Regions from separate parts of the Homo sapiens genome. Here regions 2 and 3 are each linked to region 1. The links are contacts of gene promoters, found by promoter capture Hi-C in blood cells and fetal thymus (Javierre and others, 2016). All regions are on one chromosome and are shown on one strand. Each heading gives the region's core, a stretch centred on a gene start or on the middle of the fragment in contact. The rest is flanking DNA. Distances are from core to core; before and after follow the strand shown. Region 1 holds the start of TBCC (tubulin folding cofactor C). Region 2 holds the start of LRRC73 (leucine rich repeat containing 73). Region 3 holds the start of ABCC10 (ATP binding cassette subfamily C member 10).

Region 1 (4,820 bases), core at 960-3,459:
TGAGATCACGCCACTGCACTCCAGCCTGGGCAACAAGAGCGAAACTCTGTCTCAAAAAAAAAAAAAAAAAAGAAACACGTAAAGAGTGATGGCTCTCCGAAGGAACTGAATGTCTAGGGACAAAGGAATTACCTATGGTTTTTTGTTTTTGAGACAGTGTCTCACTCTGCCACACAGGCTGGAGTGCAGTGGCGTGATGTCAGCTCACGACAACCTGTCTCCCAGGTTCAAGCAGTTCTCCTGAGTAGCTGGGACTACAGGTGTGAACTATCATGCCCGGCTAATTTTTGTGTTTTTAGTAGAGACGGGGTTTCACCTGGCACCGGGTCTCCAACTCTTGACCTCAAGTGATCTGCCCACCTCAGCCTCCCAAAGTGCTGGGATTGCAGGCGTGAGCCCCCGGGCTCAGCTCTGGAATTTATTAAATATGTATCTATACCCTGACACTGCTGGTTACTGTCTATAATCCGAGTGTTTTGGGAGGCTGAGGCAGGAGAATTGCTTGAGGTCAGGAGTTCGAAACCAGCCTGGGCAACATAAGGAGAGCCCATCTCTTTAAAAACAAAACACACACACACACACACACACCAAACAAACCCATGTATTTACTGCAGACCTACTTTATTATGCACCGTGATGTTTCAAGTATCACAAACCATTACAAAGCAATATAATCACCCTCCTTCCCCCTTACTGCTTCAAACTATTGTGGTAAAAATAAATAAATAAAGCCCTGGCGTGGTGGCTCACGCCTGTAATGCCAGCACTTTGGGAAGCTGAAGCGGGTGGATCACCTGAGGTCAGGAGTTCGAGAGCAGCCCGGACAACATGGCGAAACCCCGTCTCTACTAAAAATACAAGTTCGCGTGGTGGCGCGCGCCTGTAATCCCAGCGCGCCACCACGCTGGGGGACGGAGTAAGACTCAGTCTCAAAGGCATGACGAAAATAGCAAAAATGCTTTAGTGTTATACCTGTTACGAATTTAATGGAAATTACAAGTAGGAGCCCATTACAATCTCTAGCCTTAAAATGCTGAAAACATACACAGTGTGACAATAAGTAAACTTCGAGACCCAATAAGGGGGAAAGTCCAACGTGGAAAGTATTTGGTAGGAGTGAAGAACAGAGTGACAACTGCTTAGTCCCACTGGATATTTCGCTCCTCTTCAGGAAGAATACTCCAGTTTGGGGAGGCCATATCCCGGGCCAGCCAGTTAAAATCGTCAACATCGTTCCAGTTATTTTTGCTCCTATCTAAACCAGAGCTCTCGAAGTCCTTGTCGATCTCCGGGTAGCTCCAGGTGTAAGGGGCGAACTGGATCCCACTGCAGTCCTCCACGATGGCCCTGCTGGTCACCTGCAGGAAGATGCGGGTGTCTTTCGTACTGTGTATGCGGAGCTGTTGGCAGGCCACTGCCAGCACGCAGTCACTGCAGTCCTCCAGGAAAACAGAGGTAGACACCGGACCGCAGAGCAGCTTGCAGCTGTGGGCCTTGGTTAGCCGCAGGGTGTTGGGATTTCCATACAGTCTGACCGTGCAGTTGCTCAGTTCGGTCAAAAGAACGTCGCGCTGGTGCAACTCGCTGGCTCTCTTCTCCAAGACTTGGGACTCCAGGTTGGAGAAACCGCAGACCCAGCTGGGGCCGAGGTCTCCTTCCGCCTTCTTGGGCAGCGGGGAGTCCTGTATGCTTTCAACTGCCGGGGGGATGCCAGGAGCCGCGTCTACTTTGGTAGACGAAGCAGCATCCTTTCCCCGGGTCTTGAAAGCGAAACGCTTCTTGGGCTGCAGCCCCCGGCGCCGCTCGGCCAAGGCCGCCTGCAGCCGCGCCAGCGCCTCTTGTCCCTGCCGCAGGTCGTAAGCGGCTAGGAAAAAAACTGAGTCGTTGATTAGTTTCTGCAGCCCCTGGAGCCGAGAGGCCGCCTCCTCCAGCCGCTCGACCGACTCCGCGCGCTCCAGAAGCTCTTCCACGGCCGCTCGCTCCCGAACAAAGGTGGCGACGAAAAAGTGGCTGTTCTCCTTCTCTACCTCCTGGTTCTGCCGCTTTTGTTTCCGCCTTTCAACTTCCAGCTGCCGTTCTTGTTCGCGTCTCTGAAGCCGCTCAGGCACCAGGCTCAGGTCCCGCTGGGACTCCATGTCTCCGGTCCTGACAGCAGCAGCGGAGCAACTGACGGACTCCATATTGGCTTCAAGCTTCCTCTCTCTTGTCTTCCTTCCTCCGGGCGCGCTGTCCGTGAGGCCTCCCACCAACGCGTCCGGTGATTGGCCTAACATGATGATGTCAGATCCCCGGCCTTATTTTCTTCGCCTATTGGTTCCTCTGCGTCGGAGGGGGCGGGGAGATGGGGCGGGGCCGACTGACTATGGGGGTGGGAAGACAAAGGTTCTTGTGGATGGGTGGGGTGGGAGGCAGGCGGGGGAATCTTTTTTTTCCTCTTAAAGGGGCAGGACTTATATCCGGGATTGTGGGGTGAGTTGCAGCAGCGGCAGCTGCACATGTGGGTTTGTTTATAAGAACAAGGTTAGAAACTCGCAGGCCTCCCCCTCCCCCCAGCTCCTCCCTACTACCCCCTTACAGGCCGGAGATCCGCTACTAGGGGTGTGGGTGGGAGGGATGAGTGCGTGTGGTGGGTTGGGGGGACAGGTAGTGGTGAGAAAGATGGAGCGGGGGGGAATATTGCACCGCCTGGCCCGCGCCGGAGGAAGCAGCAGCTGGAACAGCTGGCTGGGGAGCCGCTTGCATGCCTCCGGTTTTTTCTTTTCCCTTCCACCACCCCTTCCCCCAACCCATTTCTGCCTCCCCGTAGCCCTCATCCTTACCGCCCCCCTCCCCCCTATCCACTGCAGTTCGGCGCGGCCTGGGGGCTCCTGGATCCCCGCAGGCAGTTACTAGGGCAGGAGAAGGCAAGGGGCACTGCGATGGGAGAGACTGGGTTCCTCACTGCAACCTGGTTCGAGGGGCCCTGGGGGAGTCCATAAAAGGATTACTATTTTTTTGGCCAATTGCTGCAGTCGGAGGGGTGGGGGCGGGGGAAGGTGAGATCCACACCCCCTTCCTCTTTCTTCCCTGCCCTCCCCGAGCTCGGTCCCGGCCACTCCCTCCGCAGCTGGGCGTCGCCGGCCGCGCTGGGGTGAGACCCTAGCCCCGGGCTCCGTGGCTCTCTGGGGCGGTCGGTCTTAGGAAAGCGGTGGGAGAAGCGGTACATTATTTCTAGGGGTGGTGGGAGGGATTTGTCACCGGAAGTGAATGGCCTAGCCTAAAGTCGGGACCAACCCGAGGTGTGGGTGGGCAGCCAAGACGGCGCAGTCACTGGCAAAAACCCGAGGCAGCGGGCAGGGCGAGAACCCGAGACGCAGCCGCTGCCCGGGCGCGGCAGCCTCGCATGCTTCGCTCAGATCTGCGGAGCTCCCGAACCTCTTTAACCCTGCCCGCCCTTCCAACCCTAGGTTTCCTCCTTATATCCCCAGTTCCCAGCCTCCATCGTTTAAATTGGGGTATTTAACGACCCAAGAAACTTGAAATTTCACCGATCTACCTGCATTTTGATGCAGAGAAAGATGGGAGGAAACGCGAACCATTGAATTAAATCTGAGTTAAAACTGATCTCCCATTTTCACGCCCCACTCTCTTCCTTTCCTTCCCACTTAAAACAAACAAAACACACATAAATTGCTGGGCCAGAGTATTTCTCCGCTGAGAGCACAGTTCATACCGTGTGGCAGATTCCCCGCGCAGGCGGGGCGCGGGGGCAGGGGAGAGGCTTGTGTGTCCGCGTGCCTGCGTGCACCCGATGGAAAAGGGGGTGCCGAAAAACAATGGTGCTTACTCTTGTGCATAGTCATCGTTTTCACTAGTCTTGTTTTATGGGCAGATTAGGTGAGGCTTCTGTTTTTGCTTTTTTGTTTTATTTTGTTTTTTTTTTTTTTTTTTGAGACGGAGTTATGCTGTTGTTGCCCAGGCTGGAGTGCAATGGCGCGATCTCGGCTCACCGCTATCCGCCTCCCGAGTTCAAGTGATTCTCCTGCCTCAGCCTCCCGAGTAGCTGGGACTACAGGCATGCGCCACCATGTCCGGCTAATTTTGTATTTTTAGTAGAGACGGGGTTTCTCCATGTTGGTCAGGCTCGTCTCGAACTCCCGACCTCAGGTGATGCGCCCGCCTCGGCCTCCCATAGTGCCGGGATTACAGGCATGAGCCACTGTGCCTGGCCCTTTTTTTTTTTTTTTTTTTTTCCAGAAAAGCAGGTTTATTTCACAAAACTGTGGGTCTGAAAGCTGGTGGACAAGAAAGCTAGTTATATTGTCCAAGTCGTGGAGGAATTGCAATAGCTGCTTTATTTTATGAAATGTTGATTTAAGCAAAGAAGCTTTAGAGAAGATTTATTTTTCTAGAAAAAAACAACCTGACCTTTTAAGTTTTTCAGGTTGAACCTGTCTCACTCAAATTAAGAACGTTTGTAGCTAAAGAAGGTTTATTGGACTTGGAGGTTGCAGCTGGAGTGAGATAACATTTCGGTATTAGGCATAGTGAATCTATGGGTGTTGTAAGTGTTGGCTGTATCCCAAGTGGAATTGAATGTTATTAAACCCTTTCAAGAACTTCATTTCTGTCTACCAACAGGTTTTTGCTACAATCCAGTAGACTTGGGAAGTTTCTAAATACTTGAAGTTGGTTAGTTCGAACTTTCAAGAAAAGGAAACAGTTAAAAACAGAGCTTGACAGGTCACCCAGGTGACCCGGTGTGTTAGGGGCAGTTTCAAAGACTGATGTGAGGAGTAGTGGAAAGGGGTCAGTGAGTGATACGGTCATTGTGAAGCATT
Region 2 (4,820 bases), core at 737-3,236, 760 kb after region 1:
AGGCGGCTCCAGCCCTTAGGGGTGATGCCAGGGTTGGCACTCAGCGTTAGCTCCTTCAAGCCTGGGCAGCATCATAGCAAGAAACCAGAATAGGGAGGGTTAAGCCCTCCTCCAGCCCTTCCCCACAATCCCTGTGTCTCTGGGGTGTCCCTAGTGGCTGGGCACCACCTTACCCCCACCATAGAGGTCAAGAGCCATTAAGGAGGCCCATGCTTCCTCTGCCTGCCCCAGCCTGGATTCCTGAGTCTCCATGCTGCCCCCCGTCCTGCCCCTTCCTGAGAGGAGTAGAAAGATGTTCTCGCCCACATCATCAGAGCTCTGGGGCCACACCCCCTTCCCTCTGCATTTCGATTTTCATCACTGCCACACTAGCCCAAGCCCTCAACAGGGTCCTGCTCACCAGATTTGGCCCCATCTGGGGGCAGGAGGCCACAGATGAGGTTGATGGCTTCATCACCCAGCATGCAGTCCCCCAGGTCCAGAGCCACGAGGGCAGGGTGGAGGGCCAGGGCTGGGTTCAGCAAGGCCAGCCCCGCATCTGTCAGGGGGCTCCCATGCAGGCTGGAGGAGAGTGAGAGAGCAGGGTTACTGCAGTCCTCCGCACTATCTACATGGGAAAGGGGCACTTTCACTTCTGTCAGCCCTAGGTATGGGGAGGGCAGTCACAGCGCTTGAGAGGCCTGGAAAAGGAGAAGGAAAGTTCTAGATTCTCAGGGAATACAGATAGAGGGAGAATTCGGTTTGTTTTCTGGGGCAGGGATCCAGGACATTGCACAGGGAGGGGCAGAGAAGGGGTGGGTGGGTGGTGGACCGGAACTCTGCAGTGGGCAGGGCTCTCGTCCCCACGGGGATATTCCCCCTTGGGAACCAAGGAGCTGCCCCAGTGAAGTAAATGCAGATGATTAGGTGGGGAGGTACGGCCCCCACCTCATGTCAGGAACTGGTGGGTATCCCAACACGGCTAGGGTCGCGCGTGCAAAGTCCAAGCATGTGCTTGGAGGGTGCTGTGAAGGCATGGGCCGAGGCACGGTGTATGTGCATAAGGCATGTGAAGGTAGGATGGTACTGGAAGGAGTGTGGAGGAACAGGAGGTGCCAGGGGAGTGTATGGAAGGGTGCAGTGCCCGGGACCCCCTTGCGAGGGGGCGCACTCACAAGAGGGACTGGATGGAGCGGTTGGTCCGCAGAGCCTCAGCCAGCTGCTTGATGCGGCTGGGGCTGGACACGACGCCCAGGTTAAGGTTGAGCTGCGCCAGGGACGTGGCCCCGGCCAGGGCCCGGCAGATGCGGCCAAAGTCGCGGTCGCAGAGGCGGCAGCCGCGCAGTGAGAGCAGGCGCACGGCGTTGTCGCGAAGGCCGCGGCAGATGTCCCGCACCTCGGCGCCGGACAGCGGCTCCCCCGAAATCTGGATGGAGCTGGGCAGCATCGTGCCCACGGCTGGGCCTCCGGGTACGGGGCCGGAACGGAGGTTGGTGGGGCCGCGGGCGGGGCCGGGGATAGGGCCGGGGTCGGGGCCCCGGCAGGGGTCGCGGGCGGAGTGGGGCCGGGGGTGGAGGCGGCGGCTGTGGCGGAGGCTGCGGCTGCGGCGGAGGCTGCGGCGGGGGCGGAGAAGAGCTACCGGGACTGAGCCGGAGCCGGCCAGAGGTGCGGAGGCGTCCAGGGCGCGGGCCGGGCTGAAGTGGGGCGGCGCTGGGGCGGGGGCGGCCCGCACGGTCCGTGTCTGGGCGTTGGGGCGGGTGCGCGTTCCGGGGGTTGGGCAGGCGCTGCTCGGCGCTTGTCCTTGTCCCTCGCGGTCGCGGCGGCGGCGGCGGCAGCGGCAGCGAGCGGCTCAAGGGCTTCGGCTTACCGGTCTCGGCTAGGAGGCCGTACCCGCTCCCTCCTTCTCTGCCGCCCGGCTCCCCCCGACCACCCCGCGGGCCTGGCCGCACGGCTGGCAGAGAGAGCCTGAGGCGGGCGGCTGGCGGCAGCTCCGGCTCCAGCTCCAGAGAGCGAGCGGGCGGCGAGTTCCCATGGCAACGGCCGCGTCACCGGCGCTCGCCCCGCCCCCTGCCCGGCCAAGGCCACGCCGGCCCGCGAGGTTCGCGTACACTGGGTGGTTCGGGGCAAGGAGCTGGGAGCGATAGGCCGCTCTTCCCTTGGGAGTGGGGTCAGCCAACTGGCAGGCGGCAGGCGGCAGGGCTGAGTGGGTAGGGCTGACGGGGAGCGGAATGGAGGCACGCCCCGTGGAGATGGCGTTGGGCACGGTTACTGCTGCTTCTGCCCATTCTTCCATCCTTCCCCGTTCCTAAGGTCCATACCCCCGCCGGAATCCAGGGCACTGTTCCCTCCTATTTGGAAGGCCCCAGGGCCCTTTCATCCGCGCCGCGCCTCGCTCCCGCCCCCGTGACTCGAGGCGCAGCGTGCGTGGTGATCCCGGCCCATGGGGACTTCCCCGCTTGCTCCTCGCCAAGATGGCGGCCTCATCAGGGAGGCCCCAGGGGCCACGGCTGGGCAGAGCCAGCTTGAGCTGCTGGGGAGAAGGGTACCCCATAGGGTCCCTAGGGCAGGGGAGCCTCAGATAGATGCAAGGTCCTGGTGCCACACCTTCTCAGGTACGCAGGGCACTGTTGACATCTGAGGGTGTGTCCGTGCCGCGAGACTGGGGCAGCCAATACAAAGAAGGTGCCAGGGCCAGGGCCCTGGAGCACTGGTGAGGACGTGAAGGCGGCTGAGCCACACTGCACGGTGCAGGCGGTGCTGTCTCAACTTTGTCCTCTGGCCAGGGTGGTGGGGGACTCACTTGTGTAACGCAGGACAAATGAAGGGCACCTCTGTTTGTCCCTTTGTTAGGAGGGATAGATGCTGCTGACCCAGATTTACTAGTGTTAAGATGATTATTTTACATAAAATATAATATTCAATATAGTGAAGGGAGGTCAAAGGCCCTATTCCCACTCTTAGCCACCTGAATTAACTTATTAAGTGGAGCATATTAAAGAGGTGGTGGGGGTGGATGGTGCTATGTTAGGAGTGGTGGTTGGTTTTAAGAGGAAAGACAGAAAAACTAAAAGGAGCTGGCCCCAGTACCACCAAGGCAAAGCCAAATTTGGCTTCAATTAAGAGCTCCACAGGAAAATTATCAACACAATGCCCAGGTGCAGAAGATCCTTGTTTTGACACGGGGTTTAAGTCGGGATGTTTTGTTCAATTGTCACTGCTTCCTTGGCTTCCCAAGAGAGCAGCTGAGCCCAGACTCAAGCTGGCTGCAGTGTTCCATCAGGCTTATGGCTTTTGTGCTTGAGGCCTCCCTGCCGCTTCATGGGTCAGGTGTGATATTCAATCACTGCCTTCTATGTAGTCTGGCCTGTCCCACCTTTATCTTGCCTGGGTGAGGATATGAAGAAGGGAACATATGACATTACCACTGTTGACTGAGTAGGAAAGTATATAGGAAGCGGGATGACAGGGAGGACCACTGGATCAGCCGCTGCAGTTCCAGACTTCAATCAACATTTTAATTACCAAGTCTATATTTAGCAAGACAATGTGGGAGAGATAAAGAGGAAGGAAGGGGTAGGTGGGGAGGGGTTCTCAAAGGAGCTGACCCATTTTCTGCATTGGCTGCAGAGCCTTGCAGTCCTGGCCAGGAGTTCTTGGCCTTGTGCCTTTCAGAAGTGCCGACAGGCATCAAGGAGGTACTTACGCAGCTACAGCTCAGTGGCAGCTGCAAACCCCATCTACGAAACATGTCATCAGGACTGTCCTTTAATAGTCTTCCTCCTCTCTGCAGCTGCGGGAAAGAGGACTGGCCAAGAATTTCAGGTGGGGTCAGTGTGACTGCAGGGTCACCGCAACAGCTTTGGCTGTGGCGTTGAGGACGGTGGTGGGAAGCCGAGCAGCAGGGAGCATGGCAGGGATGTCTCTGGGGACCCTCTGGATGGGCGGGATGTTGGGGCCCTCCAGTGTGTCCAGGATCCCTGGAAGGAAGATGGAAGGTGAGCGAGGATCAGATGGGCCCAGCCCACCAGCCATCATATCTAGCTTCTTGCTCTAGGCAGCTGCTTTCCCATTCTCCCCCACCCAGACCTTCCTGCCACTTACCCTCTACCACTTTGTGGTAGGCAAAATGCAGATAGAGCAGGAAGAGCATGTGTAGGGCAGCCAGGGTGCCACAGAGGAGCAGCCGCTGTGTGGGGCCCACGGTCCGAGACACCAACACTGCTACCTAGGACCATGAGAATACAGCTCAAAGGGCCTGGCTCCAAAGTGAGGAGTGGGGACAAGACACCCCCACCCAGGGCAGAACCATCTTTGGGCTCTTCCCTCCCATTTAGGGCTCTTTGTGAGATGGACAGCTCCAGGCTGTCTTCCCCAACTCCCTGGGAGGACAGCCCACCCCTGGAAGCCTCTTGCCCAGCTTACCATGCGCAGTGTGGACAGTCCACCCACCAACAGCCAGAAGAGGTAGAAGAGGGCGTGGAGGTGGATATTATAGGTGATGAACAGGACAATGCAATGCCCAAAGAGGCCATAGCCCTGGGAAGGAGGATGGTGGAGAGGAAAATCATTCAGGTTGGGCTGCTTTCTGGCCCCTCATGGGGACCCTGGGAAACACATGGTCCATTGGCCTACTCCTCCCATTCCAGGCTTTGGGGCCCCAGGACAGATGCCGACCAAGGCCTGGCTACTCTTTTTAACATCACTCTTGCCCACCACACCTGGCTCCTTACCAGCAGTGCCAACATCTGCAGCATGGTGATCTGGGCGTTGCACAGGTAGGCAAGGAAGTAAATGAAGGATGAGACTCCCAGCCAGTAGCCGAAGCAGGTGCCAATGGCTGT
Region 3 (4,820 bases), core at 1,691-4,190, 680 kb after region 1:
GCGCTCTCTCTCCCCCCTCCCCCTCCCTCTCCCTCTCCCCACGGTCTCCCTCTCCCTCTCCCCACGGTCTCCCTCTCCCTCTCTTTCCACAGTCTCCCTCTGATGCCGAGCAGAAGCTGGACTGTACTGCCGCTATCTCGGCTCACTGCAACCTCCCTGCCTGATTCTCCTGCCTCAGCCTGCCGAGTGCCTGGGATTGCAGGCGCGCGCCGCCACGCCTGACTGGTTTTCATATTTTTTTTGGTGGAGACGGGGTTTCGCTGTGTTGGCCGGGCTGGTCTCCAGCTCCTAACCGTGAGTTATCTGCCAGCCTCGGCCTCCCGAGGTACCGGGAATGCAGACGGAGTCTCATTCACTCAGTGCTCAATGTTGCCCAGGCTGGAGTGCAGTGGCGTGATCTCGGCTGGCTACAACCTCCACCTCCCAGCCGCCTGCCTTGGCCTCCCAAAGTGCCGAGATTGCAGCCTCTGCCTGGCCGCCATCCCGTCTAGGAAGTGAGGAGCGTCTCTGCCCGGCCGCCCATCGTCTGAGATGTGGGGAGCGCCTCTGCCCCGCCGCCCCGTCTGGGAGATGAGGAGCGTCTCTGCCCGGCCGCCCCGTCTGAGAAGTGAGGAGCCCCTCCGCCCAGCAGCCGCCCCGTCTGAGAAGTGAGGAGCCCCTCCGCCCGGCAGCTGCCCTGTCTGGGAAGTGAGGAGCGTCTCCGCCTGGCAGCTGCCCCGTCCGGGAGGTGGGGGGCAGCCCCCGCCCGGCTAGCTGCCCCGTCCAGGAGGTGGGGGGGGGCGCCTCCGCCCGGCCAGCTGCCCTGTCCTGGAGGTGGGGGGCGCCTCTGTCCGGCCGCCCCTTCTGGGAAGTGATGAGCCCCTCTGCCCGGCCGCCACCCCATCTGGGAGGTGTACCCAACAGCTCATTGAGAACGGGCCATGATGACGATGGTGGTTTTGTCGAATAGAAAAGGGGGAAATGTGGGGAAAAGATAGAGAAATCAGATTGTTGCTGTGTCTGTGTAGAAAGAAGTAGACATAGGAGACTCCATTTTGTTCTGTACTAAGAAAAATTCTTCTGCCTTGGAATGCTGTTAATATATGACCTTACCCCCAACCCCCTGCTCTCTGAAACATGTGCTGTGTCCGCTGAGGGTTAAATGGATTAAGGGCGGTGCAAGTGCTTTGTTAAACAGATGCTTGATGGCAGCATGCTCGTTAAGAGTCATCACCACTCCCTAATCTCAAGTACCCAGGGACACAAACACTGCGGAAGGCCGCAGGGTCCTCTGCCTAGGAAAACCAGAGACCTTTGTTCACTTGTTTATCTGCTGACCTTCCCTCCACTATTGTCTTATGACCCTGCCAAATCCCCTTCTGCGAGAAACACCCAAGAATGATCAATAAAAATAAATAAATAAATAAATAAAAAACTGTGATTCATGGGATTCATGGGAGGAGGACAACGTATATCAACATTAACAGAAGTTTGGAAGAAGCTGATTCCAACCTTCACGGATGGACCTTCAAGACATCAGTGGAGGAAGTAACTGCAGATGTGATGGAAACAGCAAGTGAATTAGAATTAGAAGTGGAGCCTGGCCAGGTGCAGTGGCTCACACCTATAATCCCAGCACTTTGGGAGGCCAAGGCAAGCGCATCACCTGAGGCCAGGAGTTCAAGACCAGCCTGGGCCAGGTAGCAAGACTCTGTTAATTAATTACTAAAGATTGTGAAATGCAAACCTACATCTCTTAGTTTTTAAAAATAGGAAAATTAATTCTTGACGTTGAGGGATATGGGGCTTCTTACTGAGATTAAGTGGGATAACCATAATTGTCATTTGTTTAGCTTTTCTTCTTCAAGCACTGTACACACCTATGTAAAGGCGGATACCAACACCATGCCTGACAAACATAATAAAATAAAGATGCAGAAGTAACCTGCCCAACATCCCTCTGCTAAAAGCATTCAAACCCAGGTCCGTATAATTATAAAGGTTATGTTCTTCCCACTGCTTCCTTAAAAGATTTATTGGAGGACTACCCTAGGCAAAGCACTTGCCCTAAGCACTCTAAATTAATTATTCAACTCTCTCAACAGTACTTTAGTATTGGTATTGTCCCTGTTGTACAAATAAAGAAGTTGAGGCTCGGCCGGGGTGGTGGCTCACGCCTGTAATCCCGGCTCTTCGGAAGGCCAAGGCGGACGGATCACGAGGTCAGGAGATCGAGACCATCCTTGCCAACATGGTGAAACCCCGTCTCTACTAAAAATACGAACAAAAAAATTGGCTGGGCGTGGTTGCGCGCGCCTGTAGTCCCAGCTACTCGGGAGGCTGAGGCAGGAGAATCGCTTTAACCCGGGAGGCGGAGGTTGCAGTGAACCGAGATTGTGCCACTGCACTCCAGCCTGGTGACAGAGCGAGACTCCGTCCCCCCCCCAAAAAAAAGTTGAGGCTCAAAAAAGTTAGGTAACTTGTCCAAGGTCATGCAGCCCTAGAATAATAAGGGAAAACAGTGTGTCCCAAAATGGCATTATTTGTCCGTGGGGCAGGTATGTTTGAATTTCCATCCATCCATCTATCTATCTGAGACTGGGGTCTCGCTATGCTGCTTGGACTGTTCTCGAACTCCTGGGCTCAGGCCATCCTCCTGGGATCTACCGGCGCGCAGAGACTACGGGCGCGCAGGGACTACCGAGGCGCGCAACCGTGCCCGGCTCCCCACCTCTTCAAGAAATGGAGATTGCAATGCTTGTGCCAACTAGTAAGCTTACACAGTTGTGAGCGAATACTCCACGTGAGAGGTTATAAATGACGTTGCACTAAGGGAGGGATGGATCCTTAACGCAAGTCAGGCCACAAAAGCGTACCAAAACGCAACTGTGCGTCTGCACCAGCGCGCCTGCGTGCAAAGGCCAGCCGAAGCAGAGAGCAGTGCACATGCGTGCAGCTACCAGCATATGGGCGTGGCGAATAGCGCCGGCTAGGTCTTCCAACCTCTAGGTGGGGTGCCAGCCGGGGCGGGCCCAGCACCCCGGCCGGGCAGTACTTTTTTTTTTTTTGCATACACCAGTTCTCAGGATATCGGAATCCGGTGCACAGCAGCTTCTTCAGGTTTGAGGTTCCGGATGCCTGGGGGCGGAGAAACGGGAGGGGAAAAACAGATGGCAAGGTGGGTGACCAGCGTCCAGAAATCCACTGGGGAAACCTCCTCCCGTTTTTACCCTTGGTACCGCGAGAATGGGCGGGGTCTGGCTTCGGGGCGGAAGCGACGGGCGGTCCCGGTTCCAGGGCGGGGCTGGAGACAGGGAGACCCGGCTGGGAAGTGCAGGCAAAGCCGGCTGTTACCCTGCACAGCCGTCACCCTCAACTTTCCCTTCAGGTGAGGCGTCCATGGAACGACTTCTGGCCCAGCTGTGCGGCAGCAGCGCAGCGTGGCCGCTCCCGCTGTGGGAGGGGGACACCACAGGCCACTGCTTCACCCAGCTGGTGCTCAGCGCCCTGCCCCACGCGCTCCTCGCCGTGCTCAGTGCCTGTTACTTGGGCACCCCGAGGTGGGTAGAGACGGGCGCAAGGCATCTGTCCATGTGTGCCTGCAGATCTCACCCGCGGCCTACATCTTCCGGCAGTGTCACCAGAATAGCGAGGTCTCTGGAGTAGGGCAGAAGTAGAATAAAATCTAAGCATTGCTACTTAGCAGCAATGTGGCTGTTCTTGGGCAAGTACCTGCCTTCTCTGAGTCTCATTGTTGGGAGGTTTAAATGAGATAATGAATTTAAGCATATAGTGCAGCGCCTGGCATGTTTTTAAAGGTCCGATGAGTATCAGAAATCATCAGAATTGTCCATTTTCAGCTACCCGGACTCAGCTGTCATGAATTGGAGGCAGAATTGGGGGAACAACGTTTTTAGCCAAAAGCGATGATGTGTTTAAGTTGTAGGCTCAGTTTCTCACCACTGCAACCCATGAAACCTTAGTGTTTCCAGATTAAGAAAAGCATACCTAGGCTCAGCTGAAGAGGAAGCAGTAGATAGACAAGAAGAGCAAAATCAAACATTAAGCCTTCCCCAATTAAGGGCTATAAGGTGTGGATGCTAAACTCAACTTGATTTTGTATTTAGTTCTTGTATGGCTAGAGATGACTAAAGTTAGTCTCATTCTGGCTGCCGAGAAGATAGGAGGACGGTGTGGTCTCTGCCTTTGGGAGTTCCTAGTCTGATGGGGGGAAGTGTCTCTATCCAAGAGGTCTTTCTTGCTTTCTCATTAGACTGAGTTCCCAAAAGACTGTGCCAATTTTTAATAGCTGCTCTTCTGAGAAGGCTGTCTATGCTAGGTGATTAAACCCTTCTAGACTTTTGTCTCTGTGTAAGAAACAAATCAGGATTCCTCCCAGACCAAGCGGATACACAGCTTCTCCTATCCAAGGAAGGGATTCATCCGCCCCCTGGGAAAGCAAGAAAGACCATCATGTGATCAATAGAAATTGTGCTTCACTTCACTTATCAGCCTTGTGTGTGTTGCTGAGAAGGGTTAGAGAGATCGAGAATCTAAGACAGGAAAGGGCCTCAGAAGGCTTTAACTTGAGACTCACTGCTCACCATACTGGTGAGGAAAGTGAGATTCAGAGAGGAAAAGAGACTTGAAGGGGTGATGAGGCTGGTTGATGGCCAACTTGGGGCCAGTTTATGCCTCCAAGGGCCCAGTGTTCTTTCTTGGGTCCCCACATCTTAGGAAATATATATATTTTTTTCTTTTCCTTCTTTCTTTTCTTTCTTTCTTTTCTTTCTTGTGTGTGTGTGTGTGTGTGTGTGTGTGTGTGTGTGTGGCGGGGGGGA

Evidence for each region. The method cuts DNA at HindIII sites, captures the fragments that hold promoters and counts their contacts. A CHiCAGO score of 5 or more calls a contact.
Region 2: a contact is called between the fragment with the promoter of LRRC73 here and the fragment with the promoter of TBCC in region 1, in 1 of 17 cell types (total B cells). The highest score is 5.2, in total B cells.
Region 3: a contact is called between the fragment with the promoter of ABCC10 here and the fragment with the promoter of TBCC in region 1, in 1 of 17 cell types (fetal thymus). The highest score is 5.4, in fetal thymus.

What each region holds. Positions count from the first base shown.
Region 1 is chr6:42,743,894-42,748,713 of GRCh38, forward strand. It overlaps TBCC (tubulin folding cofactor C), which reads right to left and starts at 2,210. Exons shown (of 1, transcript NM_003192.3): 1 at 605-2,210. The coding sequence starts at 2,180. The coding sequence ends at 1,140. It also overlaps a transcript of BICRAL not described here. RefSeq lists enhancers at 1,699-1,858, 1,919-1,998, 2,029-2,238, 2,303-3,266, 3,653-3,702 and a silencer at 3,209-3,268. The HindIII fragment of the contact is 2,174 bases long and covers 2,191-4,364 here.
Region 2 is chr6:43,508,360-43,513,179 of GRCh38, forward strand. LRRC73 (leucine rich repeat containing 73) reads right to left here and starts at 1,987. Exons shown (of 6, transcript NM_001012974.4): 1 at 1,155-1,987; 2 at 401-561; 3 at 1-61. The coding sequence starts at 1,426. It overlaps YIPF3 (Yip1 domain family member 3), which reads right to left. Exons shown (of 9, transcript NM_015388.4): 6 at 4,710-4,820; 7 at 4,402-4,515; 8 at 4,081-4,204; 9 at 3,473-3,956. The coding sequence ends at 3,808. RefSeq lists silencers at 1,565-1,834, 1,855-2,144. The HindIII fragment of the contact is 9,076 bases long and covers 1-4,820 here.
Region 3 is chr6:43,424,601-43,429,420 of GRCh38, forward strand. ABCC10 (ATP binding cassette subfamily C member 10) reads left to right here and starts at 2,941. Exons shown (of 22, transcript NM_001198934.2): 1 at 2,941-3,157; 2 at 3,368-3,539. The coding sequence starts at 3,379. LOC105375065 (a long non-coding RNA gene) reads left to right here. Exons shown (of 6, transcript XR_007059585.1): 6 at 93-1,414. RefSeq lists enhancers at 895-1,416, 3,518-3,587. The HindIII fragment of the contact is 12,589 bases long and covers 2,753-4,820 here.